4 separate regions of the Homo sapiens genome follow, and all the other regions are linked to region 1. The links are contacts of gene promoters, found by promoter capture Hi-C in blood cells and fetal thymus (Javierre and others, 2016). All regions are on one chromosome and are shown on one strand. Each heading gives the region's core, a stretch centred on a gene start or on the middle of the fragment in contact. The rest is flanking DNA. Distances are from core to core; before and after follow the strand shown.

The links. The method cuts DNA at HindIII sites, captures the fragments that hold promoters and counts their contacts. A CHiCAGO score of 5 or more calls a contact.
Region 2: a fragment that was not itself captured here is called in contact with the fragment with the promoter of KRT14 in region 1 in 4 of 17 cell types (activated CD4 T cells, total CD4 T cells, naive CD8 T cells and 1 more); the score reaches 7.2 in activated CD4 T cells.
Region 3: a fragment that was not itself captured here is called in contact with the fragment with the promoter of KRT14 in region 1 in 3 of 17 cell types (activated CD4 T cells, total CD8 T cells and naive CD8 T cells); the score reaches 7.0 in activated CD4 T cells.
Region 4: a contact is called between the fragment with the promoter of KRTAP2-3 here and the fragment with the promoter of KRT14 in region 1, in 4 of 17 cell types (naive CD8 T cells, total CD4 T cells, total CD8 T cells and 1 more). The highest score is 6.1, in naive CD8 T cells.

The regions. Positions count from the first base shown.
Region 1 is chr17:41,585,275-41,588,666 of GRCh38, reverse strand. It overlaps KRT14 (keratin 14), which reads left to right and starts at 1,772. Exons shown (of 8, transcript NM_000526.5): 1 at 1,772-2,357. The coding sequence starts at 1,833. It overlaps LOC124904003 (a long non-coding RNA gene), which reads right to left and starts at 320. Exons shown (of 2, transcript XR_007065755.1): 1 at 131-320. RefSeq lists an enhancer at 2,869-3,370. The HindIII fragment of the contact is 10,096 bases long and covers 1-2,625 here.
Region 2 is chr17:40,979,231-40,982,622 of GRCh38, reverse strand. It overlaps KRT40 (keratin 40), which reads left to right. Exons shown (of 7, transcript NM_001389244.1): 3 at 160-316; 4 at 1,472-1,633; 5 at 1,713-1,838. LOC107985072 (a long non-coding RNA gene) reads right to left here. Exons shown (of 4, transcript XR_001752886.2): 3 at 2,016-2,174; 4 at 1-295. Among named protein-coding and RNA genes, the nearest start is that of KRT40, 3.4 kb to the left of the region's middle. RefSeq lists an enhancer at 2,016-2,617. The HindIII fragment of the contact is 2,975 bases long and covers 22-2,996 here.
Region 3 is chr17:40,996,321-40,999,712 of GRCh38, reverse strand. It overlaps KRTAP3-2 (keratin associated protein 3-2), which reads left to right. Exons shown (of 1, transcript NM_031959.3): 1 at 1-520. The coding sequence ends at 156. Among named protein-coding and RNA genes, the nearest start is that of KRTAP3-2, 1.9 kb to the left of the region's middle. The HindIII fragment of the contact is 1,100 bases long and covers 961-2,060 here.
Region 4 is chr17:41,058,344-41,061,735 of GRCh38, reverse strand. KRTAP2-3 (keratin associated protein 2-3) reads left to right here and starts at 1,622. Exons shown (of 1, transcript NM_001165252.2): 1 at 1,622-2,496. The coding sequence starts at 1,686. The coding sequence ends at 2,072. RefSeq lists enhancers at 1,303-1,877, 1,878-2,452. The HindIII fragment of the contact is 5,271 bases long and covers 1-2,123 here.

The DNA.
Region 1 (3,392 bases), core at 523-3,022:
CCAAAACCCCTGTTGCCTCTCTCTGGGGAAATTGTAGGGCTGGGCCAGGGTGGGGGGACCATTCTCTGCAGGGAGATTAGGAGTGTCTGTCAGGGGCGGGTGGAGCGGGGTGGGGCCCTGGCTTACTCACATCCTTGAGAGTCCTTTGCTGGCAGATTTGGGGAGCCCACAGCTCAGATGTCTGTCTCAGCATTGTCTTCCAAGCTCCTAGGCCACAGTAGTGGGGGGCTCCCTTCTCTGGCTTCTTCTTTGGTGACAGTCAAGGTGGGGTTGGGGGTGACAGAGGGTCCTGCTTCTCTTCTAGGAGCAGTTGATCCCAGGAAGAGCATTGGAGCCTCCAGCAGGGGCTGTTGGGGCCTGTCTGAGGAGATAGGATGCGTCAGGCAGCCCCAGACACGATCACATTCCTCTCAACATGCCTGCCGGGGTCTGTGGAGCCTAGGGGCTGATGGGAGGGTGGGGTGGGGGCCGGAAGGGTTTGCTTTGGGAGGTTGTCTGGGAGATTGCTGAAGTTTTGATATACACACCTCCAAAGCAGGACCAAGTGGACTCCTAGAAATGTCCCCTGACCCTTGGGGCTTCAGGAGTCAGGGACCCTCGTGTCCACCTCAGCCTTGCCCTTGGCACAGCCCAGCTCCACTCCAGCCTCTACTCCTCCCCAGAACATCTCCTGGGCCAGTTCCACAAGGGGCTCAAACGAGGGCGCCTGAGCTGCCCACACTAGGGATGTTCTGGGGGTCTGAGAAGATATCTGGGGCTGGAAGAATAAAAGGCCCCCCTAGGCCTGTTCCTGGATGCAGCTCCAGCCACTTTGGGGCTAAGCCTGGGCTATAACAATGCCAACGAGGCTTCTTGCCATACTCGGTTTACAAAACCCTTTCACATACATTGTCGCATTGGATTCTCAGAGCTGACTGCACTAAGCAGAATAGATGGTATGACTCCCACTTTGCAGATGAGAACACTGAGGCTCAGAGAAGTGCCAAGCCCTGGGTCACAGAGGCGTAAATGGCAGAGCCAGGACCCACCTGACTCCAGGCTGTTTCCTGGCCTCCATGAGGCCACCTGCCCTATGGTGTGGTGGATGTGAGATCCTCACCATAGGGAGGAGATTAGGGTCTGTGCTCAGGGCTGGGGAGAGCTGCCTGGATTTCTCTTTGATGGGGATGTTGGGGTGGGAACCACGATACACCTGACTAGCTGGGTGTATTTCAGGGATGGGACAGACTTCTCAGCACAGCATGGGAGGTCAGGCCTGGGAGGGCCCCCCAGACCTCCTTGTCTCTAATAGAGGGTCATGGTGAGGGAGGCCTGTCTGTGCCCAAGGTGACCTTGCCATGCCGGTGCTTTCCAGCCGGGTATCCATCCCCTGCAGCAGCAGGCTTCCTCTACGTGGATGTTAAAGGCCCATTCAGTTCATGGAGAGCTAGCAGGTAACTAGGTTTAAGGTGCAGAGGCCCTGCTCTCTGTCACCCTGGCTAAGCCCAGTGCGCGGGTTCCTGAGGGCTGGGACTCCCAGGGTCCGATGGGAAAGTGTAGCCTGCAGGCCCACACCTCCCCCTGTGAATCACGCCTGGCGGGACAAGAAAGCCCAAAACACTCCAAACAATGAGTTTCCAGTAAAATATGACAGACATGATGAGGCGGATGAGAGGAGGGACCTGGCTGGGAGTTGGCGCTAGCCTGTGGGTGATGAAAGCCAAGGGGAATGGAAAGTGCCAGACCCGCCCCCTACCCACGAGTATAAAGCACTCGCATCCCTTTCCAATTTACCCGAGCACCTTCTCTTCACTCAGCCAACTGCTCGCTCGCTCACCTCCCTCCTCTGCACCATGACCACCTGCAGCCGCCAGTTCACCTCCTCCAGCTCCATGAAGGGCTCCTGCGGCATCGGGGGCGGCATCGGGGGCGGCTCCAGCCGCATCTCCTCCGTCCTGGCCGGAGGGTCCTGCCGCGCCCCCAGCACCTACGGGGGCGGCCTGTCTGTCTCATCCTCCCGCTTCTCCTCTGGGGGAGCCTGCGGGCTGGGGGGCGGCTATGGCGGTGGCTTCAGCAGCAGCAGCAGCAGCTTTGGTAGTGGCTTTGGGGGAGGATATGGTGGTGGCCTTGGTGCTGGCTTGGGTGGTGGCTTTGGTGGTGGCTTTGCTGGTGGTGATGGGCTTCTGGTGGGCAGTGAGAAGGTGACCATGCAGAACCTCAATGACCGCCTGGCCTCCTACCTGGACAAGGTGCGTGCTCTGGAGGAGGCCAACGCCGACCTGGAAGTGAAGATCCGTGACTGGTACCAGAGGCAGCGGCCTGCTGAGATCAAAGACTACAGTCCCTACTTCAAGACCATTGAGGACCTGAGGAACAAGGTGGGTGAATGGGCAGCAGAAGGCACCATTCCAGCTAGCTCCTTCTGGGAACAATTCATGCCCCAGGCCCCTGAGACCTTAAGATTTCTCTATAGGACAGAGTCCACCCCAGATCCCTTCTTTCGAGGTCTTGGATGCCCTAAGACTGATCAGTGAGAAGATGCTTTCCCTTCCCCAGCCTCCTCATCCCCTTCTGATCTCAAATCCTCAGACCATGTGAGATCAGTGATTCCTATCCTTACATTTTTTAGAGGAAGCAGTTGAAGCTTCGAGAGGTGCTGTGACCAGCTGCAGGTCACATAGCAAATTAATGGCAGAGCCAAGGCTGGGGCCCTTGTGCCCTACCTTCCAGCACAGGAGGCAGCTACTTGTTCTCCAGCACAGGGGAGGAGTGAGGCTCTAACGGGACCAGGCAAGACATCCAAACCACTCATTAGCTCACTAGTCTGGGCTGTGGCTGCCGCCGCCCATAAGCCTTGGTACAGGCTGGTCCCTCCCCACAGCCAGGCGGGCATGGAGAGCCTGCAGAGACAATTAGTGTGGTCCCTTGATGTGCCCTGCACAGAGAGAGCCTGGCAGGCTTGTGCCCTGACTCTAGCCCCCTCCTCCCTGCTCCCACATTACTTGGGAGCCCTCCCTGCTGGAGTCTGTTGGGCTCTAATGACTTGCATGGATTAGGGAAATTCAATGATGAGGTGGGGAAATCCAACCAGACTCAGGGGCCAATATATCTTCTTATTCTTCCCCTGAGTCCTCTTTTCTAATCCCCTGTGTTAGTTGGGTTTTATCTCTTGAGAAAGTTCCACTTGAAGTCCCATGGCCTGTGAGCTTGAAAAGGAATGTGCATATCTGCAGAGGACTGGCAGGGCTGGCTGATGCAGACAGAAGAGAGGTCAGCTCAGGAAGGAGGGCTAGGGAGCCTCAGATTATTCTCCTCACCTGGAGGTGGGGAACTTGAAGCCCCAAGACCCATTAGGTTTTGCAGCAAGACACTGGCAGAATTGGGACCAGAACTCCTGGGCTTTCGATTCTAAG
Region 2 (3,392 bases), core at 260-2,759, 610 kb after region 1:
GTTAAGAATGTTTTAAAAGCTTGAATTTATCATTACTTAGGAATTAAGAGAAATTATGCACATGGCTTCCTGAAGTCCGTGTGTCGATCCTCCATGTATCCCCACACTTTGCACAGCGTTCAGCAAAGTAAGCGTTGGATTTCTCTTTTGCTGTGAAAGGTACGAGAGTGAACTGTCCCTTCGCCAGCTGTTAGAGGCTGACATCAGCAGCCTGCATGGGATCCTGGAGGAACTGACCCTGTGCAAATCTGATCTGGAGGCCCATGTGGAGTCTCTGAAGGAAGATCTCCTTTGCCTTAAGAAAAACCATGAAGAGGTAAGGAAAGTGGCAACTCCGCTGAAGGACTCCGAGAGTAACGTACTTACATTGACAGATGATCTGTTGATGTTTGTAAATCGAATTTGGGCAGATGTTGTTTAAGCTGGAATAAAACTACTTGAGGCAGGGCCAGGCATGGTGGCTCACACCTGTAATCCAAGCACTTTGGGAGGCTGAGGCAGGAGGATCACAAGGTCAGGAGTTCGAGACCAGCCTGACCAATATGATGAAACCTCATCTCTACTAAAAATACAAAAATTAGCTGGGCATGGTGGCAGGCGCCTGTAGTCCTAGCTACTCGGGAGGCTGAGGCAGGAGAATCACTTGAACTCAGGAGGCGGAGGTTGCAGTGAGCCGAGATCTTACCACTGCACTCCAGCCTGGGTGACAGGGCGAGACTCCATCTCAAAAAACAAACAAACAAACAAACAAACAAAAACTACTCGAGGCATTATTACTATTCAACCTGATCATTCCAGTGTGTCTCTGATTTAAGGTGTGAAATAACCCCTAGACAGCGCCAGAGGAAGGAATCAAACTCTTCTCCTGCCCTTGCCTTTGTGGAGGAGGTAACTTCACAAATGGCTTCCTTTGGAGGCTTTATGCCACCCCTAGCTCCAGTCCACAGGGTATGAAAATCAGGCTGAGGAACAGACTGTGAAGTCCATTTCAAAAAAGGGATAAAGACTGTGCACTATCTGGACCAGTGTTTTTAAATATTCCGCATTTATAAACTTCTAAAAATCATAAAATATACAGCCACTGATATATTGATAAAGCTAGAAAATGAAAAGCTGAATGATGTAACAAAGTACATTTGCTCTTTGAACGTTTGTTGATGACAATCATAGCTAACATTTATTGACACCTTACTATGTGTCATAATTAACTTTTATAAGTTAATTATGTGTAGATTGACTCTTCTAGATCTCACAATAACTTTCTGGAAAAATGTCCAATTATTATGTCCATTTTACAGACGAAGAAACTGAGGCCCTTCTAAGTGGTGAAAAGAGATTCAGCCCAGGCAATCTGAATCAAAATCTCACACTTTTACCCACTGCTCCAAAAAACAGAAGTAGAATGCCATTGGATGTCAAATGGATTTTTCCCCACCATTCTGTGACATTCTTTACACCATCCCACTTTCAGGAAGTCAACTTGCTTCGTGAACAGCTTGGCGACCGCCTCAGTGTGGAGCTGGACACTGCCCCCACCCTTGACCTCAACAGGGTCCTGGATGAGATGCGCTGTCAGTGTGAAACGGTGCTTGCCAACAATCGCAGAGAAGCTGAAGAATGGTTGGCTGTTCAGGTCAGTACCCAGATTGAAAAAATGTCAGGCTTACAGACTTCTGCCTTTTTTGAATTCTCTAATGGTGTCTGTGTTTCAGACAGAAGAGCTGAATCAGCAGCAACTGTCCAGCGCGGAGCAGCTGCAGGGCTGCCAGATGGAGATCTTGGAACTGAAACGCACAGCCAGTGCTCTGGAAATTGAGCTCCAAGCACAGCAAAGCCTGGTGCGTGAGGCAAAGGCAGTGTCCGTTGTGTCACTGATAAGTCAGGCCCTGAGATGTTAAGCCCTCTTCCATATCCGAGGATCACATTTCCTTGCCTTTCCCGAGTACTGCCGTTTACCCAGCTATTAATAGAAGCAGAAGTGACAGGTCCACAGCTTGTCCTCTAAGATGCCTTACCTTCACTCCTGGGCTTGAGTCTGATGCTGCAGCAGCCTCCAGAGACAGGGAGGGAGAAGCAGAGCTGGAGAGAAACCTCCGGGCCATGGTCGCTTAAGCATTCTGGCAGGTTTTAATTCTCATTTGATTCAGGCCAGTTTTCCAGGCTCACTGTTATATCTAAAACAAAGAATCATTTTCAAACATTTCATCCTACAGTTTCCCAGGATCTACACTTCAACCTTATCCTTCACTGCACCACCCCCCACTCAAGCAACAGGAACACCATGCGTTCAAGATGACATGAACCAGTTCTGGTCAAGCACCACTGTGTGCATGTCATTAGGCCCTGCGGAGAACACCTAGAAGAACAATAGCTGAGCATTCATCCTGTGAGAGGCACTATGCTGATTTAAGGCTCACAGTAACTTTACCGGATAGATACCTTTATCCCATGACACAGATAAGGAAAACTGAGACTCAGATTAAGTAACTTGCAAAGGATGCAATTCTAAGAGGCAAACTTGGAAGCTGAGTTCAGCCAGTTGAATCCCAGAGTCTCTTCTCTCTCTCTTTTTAAATTTATTTTTATTGATATATAATATGCGTAAATTTTTTTTACGTAGATGTGATATTTTGTTACATGCATAGAATGTGTAATGATCAAGTCAGGATATTTAGAGCATCCATCACCTCAAGTATTTATCATTTCTATGTGTTGGGAGCATTTCAAGTCCTCCCATCTAGCTATTTTGAAATGCACAGTGTATTGTTGTTAACTGTAGTCACACTTCTCTGCTGTCCAACATGAAAACATATTCTTTCTGTCTAACTGTATGTTTGCACCCATTAACCAACCTCTCTTCATCCCCTTACCACACATATGCCAGTCCCAGCCTCTGGTATCCAGAGCCTCTTCTCTTAATAGCACTATACTACCCCTCCCTGCCAAGAGCCCAAACTCAATCTTTCCTCTCATATGTTGTGGATAGTCCTTAAGCTTCACAAATATGTCATGTATTGCTGTAGTCATAGTGGTGGTAGTGATAGTTGACACGTAGAACAGTGGCAGTATGGCTGGCACTGTTCTAAATGCTTTACGCACATTAACTCTTTTTTTTTTTTTTTGGACGGAGTCTCCCTCTGTCGCCCAGGCTGGAGTGCAATGGCATGATCTTGACTTACTGCAAGCTTTGCCTCCCGGGTTCACACCATTCTCCTGAGTAGCTGGGACTACAGGCGTCCACCACCGTACCCAGCTAATTTTTTATATTTTTAGTAGAGACGGGGTTTCACCGTGTTAGCCAGGATGGTCTCGATCTTCTGACCTTGTGATCCGCCCGCCTCGGCCTCCCAAAGTGCTGGGATTACAGGCCTGAGCCACCGCGCCCAGCCCGC
Region 3 (3,392 bases), core at 261-2,760, 590 kb after region 1:
TGTGACAACTGTCCCCCACCCTGCCACATTCCTCAGCCCTGCGTGCCCACCTGCTTCCTGCTCAACTCCTGCCAGCCAACTCCGGGCCTGGAGACCCTCAACCTCACCACCTTCACTCAGCCCTGCTGTGAGCCCTGCCTCCCAAGAGGCTGCTGATGGATGGCTACTTTGCTCAGTGCCCGACAACGAAGAATCCAGAAGCTGTCCCTTCAGTATTCACTTGCCTCAGTAGTTTGCCAGATGTTAAGGTAGACCAGATGACCCAGATATGAAGAACTTACCTTTGGTTTTAATGGGGGAAAAAAAGAAAAGTATTTTTTATGGTTATTTAGCTGAAAAACCATTTGGTTCCTGTGGGCAGGTGAATGAGTTTTATTAGCAAAATACTGTTTCAATCTTTAAGACCTCAGATTACATGTTCTTGATCATATTGCTTCCTGGCTCTTGTTTCTTGTACTGGGTATTTTCATAGAAGAAAATTTCTTGGTGGGTTTTCCAATAAACTATATTTCTCTGGCAAGATGTGTCATTTGTTTATGTTAGTTTTGGGTATATTTCTTCCATTTTAAAAAGGTAAAAACAGGATGATTATTTTAATCTTTTAAAGAAGACTCTATTGGCAGAATGACTAACATTCTTGCTACTACTAACATGGCTTGCTAACTTTTAACAGGTTCTCTTTCATGTTTGCCTTCTCTTCTCTCTTCTTCCTCAGACAAGTGCAATTTTGGTGTGAACCAACATTTATTTATCTACTCTTCACCAGTAAATTATTGATTTAGTCCTTAAAACAGCACTAATGGATAAGAAAAAATGAAGTTTTAAGCGTTATTCAACATTCTGAAAGTCATAAAGTTAATTACTTAGAAAATCAGAATTCAGCCTCTTGTATGTCTGACTCTAAAGCCCAATTTTTCCTACCACATCATAGAACCTTCAATACTAATGAAACCAGAAGCTTAATGAGCACAGTTATGAAATAAACCCAAAATATGCAAGAGAAATAAAACATGTAAGATTCTTTAACAAAATCCACATCGGATTATAATAGAAAAAGAGTACATTGGTTCATAGATTAAAATTGGCAAGTATTCAATTCTAAAATCTGGGCATTTTGAAGGTGTACCTATTTCAACTTCATTTTCTCTTAGAGAGAACTCAAAGTGGTCAACTCTAGTAACAAGGCACCAGGGACATACCTTTATTTGCCACCATACTCAGCACAGATGTTCTACCACAGTAATCAATAGAATGCCAATACTTTTCAGGTGTCTCAGGTTGAGAGCTAAAACTCTGATTACGTATGCTTTAATTCGTTACTTAATTTTATCAACCTACTTAATTTTATCTCATGAAGATTTTTCTTTTCCAAGCCTAGAGAGAACAAGTATATATTATATATATAATACATCCAATACATTTATGTAACACATATAAATATATGTGTGTATGTATATCTATACACAATACATATATAAAGACACAAGTCAAAATCTGAAAATGCATTGAAATAAAACCACAAGAAGACATGCAAGAAACAGAGTAGGACAAGGAAGGGGAGAAGCAAATGCTTTTTAACAAACTTGTTTTAAAATGTCCTCAATGTACCTGTTAGTGTCTTGAGAGAGAAATTTCTCACGGGATTCCATAGGCTTTTTACAGCTCAACCTTAAATGAACAGAACTTAGCAGCCATGGAGTCTATGGGACACTACAGAGGATATTGTCAACAAGAGATCTAGTCCATTCACTCATTCATTTGTCCATATTTCCTGAGTGTTTGCCCTATGTCAGGCATCATATTGATGCCAGGAGTAAAAAGATAAAAGAAATGCTATTACCTCAAGTCTCAAGTGCCCTCAAGTCTCTCCCAAATCTAGTGAAGAAGAAAGACAAGTTATCATAATAATAATTGCAATGCTGAGGGATTCTGCTGTGACTGGGAGGTGAGCAGCATGGCATGCAAGCATACAGAAAGAATAACTAAAACCCTGATTTGGTGATTCAGTGTCAAAGGTGAGAAATAGCTACGGAAAGCCTCTGAGCTATCCAGTCTAAGCTTTAAAAGATGAATAGGCAGCAGGAGAGGTAGGGAACAGTTGTTCCAGACAGAATAGCAGCTTAATAAATCATGGAGGCAGCGGAAAGGTTGGTGTCTTTAAGCCACAGGAGGTAGTTGGGAATGACTGGATGAACAATGCATTGAAGAGGGTGAGGCAGAGAAGACAGAAATGCAAAGACCCAGACATAAGGGGCTCCTCAAAGCAAAGGGGTTTGGACTGAAACTTTGAAGCAATGAAATATTTCAAGCAAGAGACCAATATAATCATGTTTTGCTTCTGTCTCTTTTCATTATTAATCTTTGATTTACATCTGCACTGTCCCAGATCCCTCCATTGACTATAGAAAGATATAATTAAAACTGGACTTCTTGGATGTGTGAGTGTGCGTGTGCGTATGTGTGTGTGTGTCTAGATTTTTAGCACCCCGAAAATCTACCATCTCATCAAGAATCACCATGTTTTTCCTACATTCACTTAAAGAAAAAAGATACGCGTTGTTTTTAAAAATAAAATGCTTAGTATCTCTGACACATAGTTTAAACTTCCATTTCTAACCACATAAAAGGTAGCTCAATCCCAATAGGTCCTATATTTAGTTTTTAACACACTGGCTCCCGAACCATCTAAGGCAAATCATCTCACCTCTCTATGAATCACTGTCATCATTTATAAACAAAGGAGAGTAATTCTCAGGTCTCTTAGACCACTGCAGAGAAAATACATTTTAATAAAGTGCTGCAAGTCTTGTCAATAAAAGAGAAGAGCTTATTATAATAAACTTGTTGCATTACAACTGTTTGTAATCTGTAACCTTGTCTTATTTATGATTAGAGAAACACAATGTGCTGCATAAACAGTAATAGTTGCTCTAAGCTTTTATGGTGAACTCAAAGTAATATTGTATCCCAGGTAAGAAGCTGATAGCTTTCTGCCATGAAATTCTAATCCTGAGGGTCTGCAAGCCATGTTTCCTTTGTAATGTTTCCCTCAAAATAATTTTTTCTTTTATTTTTTGTCTTTTACTCTTTTTCTTTCCTATTATAATGTATAATAGCAGCAGCTTATAATAATATGTTATGTGTATGAAAAATTCTTCCACCAAACTGTAAACTTCATGAGGGCAAGGATGGTGCCTATCTTGTTTATTGCTATAAATCCAACATTTATCACAGTGACTAGCACATAGTAACTGCTCAGTAAATGTCTGTTGAATTACTTTTTAAATAATAAGTGAAATACTAATCAGTTCTAAGTAAAAGGGTGCACACTTCGGCAGGCATTCATACAAAGATAAATCTGGGGAAAGTCCAGGAACCAGAAGATATCATGA
Region 4 (3,392 bases), core at 373-2,872, 530 kb after region 1:
TAATTTTAGAAAACAGTATTTCTTAGTACTGTGTTCTTTTGTTAACAAAAGCAGTGGATTTACAGACATATTTCTCTTTTTAGTTTGGCATCTCTGTATACATTCCAAAACAAAGAACAGAATGCTAAACCATGTATCAAGTGAGTACTTATTTTATTTCACTAAAGGGAATAAAACTTTTTAATAACTACTGCTACATGTTATCTATTTTGAGTGACTCCGAGTTGGAAAAAGACTGGGAGACATCACCAGTGTTTCTACTCCACAGAAGACCTGTGGTATTGCTAAATATTTGCCACTCTTTGATCCGTACGACTTTGGAGGAATTCATTTTGTAAATCTGGTCTTCCAAAAACTGTGATGGACTATGATGGATCATAGACTCAAAGGACTTCAAAGATCAGGGATATGATAGACCAAAGGGTGTATTTTTAAAAAGAGAAAACAAAACAAAACACACCTCAGAGGTAAATTTGCACTGAAGACCATCAGCATTCCTTGGACAATGTTATCTTTAATCTACCTTCCAACTCTAAATTTATTTTCTGTATTCCTATTCATCTTTGCTATGGCTGGAAAAGACAAAGCTATTTTATTGGTCACCAGCTAAACTAATTCCCCTTGTCTTTTTCATAATGCCACCTTCCCACCTCATAAACAAACAAAACCCTCAGCCAACAAACTAAAGAAGCTGTGACAGAAAGATAATTGATTCCTTTGTAGATATTGTCCATAGATTTTTAAGTATGTAATACAAAGTGCATATGTCAAAGCAAGAAAGCAAGAAATAGCCCAATTTCAATTTTATTTCTAGGTCAATAATCAGGGAAGGGCATTCAGAAAGGCACAGAATGAATGAAATCCCCATTTAGTTTGACCTTATTGTTCCCAGAAAAGTTCTTTCCCTTTAATTGCTTGATTTATCTTTGTCTTGCCTTACTAAAAGTTATGATTACTATGTGATAGGAAACTATTTGAAAGCTATTTTTCTTTCCTTTCCCCCTCCACCCCCAAATAGTACAGTACCATCTACATAATAAGTGTCTCATAAGTGTTAATGAGTTATAAACCAACTCAGATTACTAAAATAAAATCAGTCTAGCAGCTTTGGTGATGATTTTCTTATAAACAAGGTTAGGCACTGTGTCATTAAACACTGGGCCATTCTTTCCATAGCAGAATCAATACACATCTGCTCTTATGAGCCATTTTGGTTTTTAAGAAATTCTTGCTTGATCTCAATGCCAATCAGAAACCCAGCCTGTGACTCATGAACATTCCAGTCCCATGCTTAAGTCACGGATGGCAGCGAACAAGAGGAAAGTGTGATGGTGGCTGGATTCTTCAAACTTGCACCTTCTCACATGGCATGGCCTGGAAGGACTAGCTGATAGATGAGCAATTGTTCTGATGATATACATGACCAGGTATTCCGTTCTAGGGAAAAAGTAGACAGGTAGAAAACAAAGCATTCTTTAGTGATTTAGGGATCGCTGCCTCAGCAGTTAAATCCAGAGTTCTCATTTCAACGGGCAGCTACAACTCCAGGAAATGACCTCATGTCCTGGGGGTCATCAGCATCCAGCTAGGATATATAAAGGGCCCAGAGTGGAACGAGGACATTCACACCTGAGAACATCCAGCTCCTCTCAACAGCCCAACCCACACCAGCCTCAGACACCACCATGACCGGCTCCTGCTGCGGCTCCACCTTGTCCTCCCTGAGCTACGGGGGAGGCTGCTGCCAGCCCTGCTGCTGCCGCGACCCCTGCTGCTGCCGCCCCGTGACCTGCCAGACCACCGTGTGCCGCCCCGTGACCTGCGTGCCCCGCTGCACGCGCCCCATCTGCGAGCCCTGCCGCCGCCCGGTGTGCTGCGACCCCTGCTCCCTGCAGGAAGGCTGCTGCCGCCCCATCACCTGCTGCCCCTCGTCGTGCACGGCTGTGGTGTGCAGGCCCTGCTGCTGGGCCACCACCTGCTGCCAGCCTGTGTCTGTGCAGTCCCCCTGCTGCCGGCCTCCCTGCGGCCAGCCGACCCCTTGCAGCACCACCTGCAGGACCTCCTCCTGCTGAGACCCCACCTCTCCTCTCAACGCACGAAACATTCCCAGGTGCACAGAAGCTTGTGCAGACTCTTCTACCCCTTCTGGATCAGATGAGAGACTCCACCTTTGCAGCCTAGCTGATCCTCAAGCACGAATTCAACAATAACATCCTATCTATTTCCCCACATAATTATGCAGCTAATCCTGGCCCTCTCTGACAATCTTGAGAAAAATTCCAGCTTTCATCATTCGAATTCCTGGCTTGAAAAAAAAAACGAGTAAATAAAAATCAAAGCTCCTCTTGAATAGAACTCTGTCCCACTGACTCATCACCCTTTTTTCTACTGTTTCAAGGTTCTCAGATGAGATTTTTTTCTTCCAGGATAATACTATTTGTATGCTGTATTTTTGCACTGTAAAAAAAAATAAAATTATATTTCTGGGGAAGCAAACATTTCTTTTTATTTATTGTTTATTGCTCTTCAAAAGCTCATATTTAGCTTACATTACAGCATGCAGAACCAGAAGAACGAAAGGAGAGATTTTCTAAGGGCCATTTTTGAGCTTTAGAATAGGAACAACTCAGGTGGAAGGTCTATAATTTTAATAGCATTTCAAATAAATCTGATCATCTCATGATTCACCTTCATATTTCGAGTCGCAGGTTTTATGGTGATGCTGACGAAATGGTGAGACTACAGTAGGTCTCTGTAAACATAAACTTGACTTATGAATAATTCACACACATGATAAGGGGGAGGAAGTCTAAGCTAAGTTATAGCCCTATTTGTTCACCAATGTAGGAAACTGTACGGTAATTGATGTCAAACAAGACCTGGGAATCCCTAGCCACTGAACATCCTATGCTGGAGGAACCACTATCCCATCTTCTCCATGGTTCCCGTCAGCACCACCATGGCCAGTTCTACTTCCAGTGGAGTGGCTGCTGCTGAGAAGACAGGGAGAAATGAAGCCTTGGTTGTAATCATCCTAGTTTTGAGCTCCGCATACATCTTAACCATTTAAACAACTGCAATGCGGTTGAAATGCTGATAACATTAATCCATACTGCATATATTTTTGATTTTGTTAAATACTTGTATGTTGGTAAGGAAGGCTAACCACTATCATTTTCCTGATAAATATCTTTTTAGTTCCTAGCATGTGATAGAAAAGAGATTTCTTTGATTGTTCAGCATGTATTCCTGGGCATATCTACCTGCCCATTGAGAGAAGTGAGGCAAGGGAAGCTTTGTGAGGGCAGGGGTCTTTAGTCTTTTTAATTTAAATTTATTTCAAGTTCAGGGGTACATGTGCACGTTTGTTATATAGGTAAATTGTGTGTCAC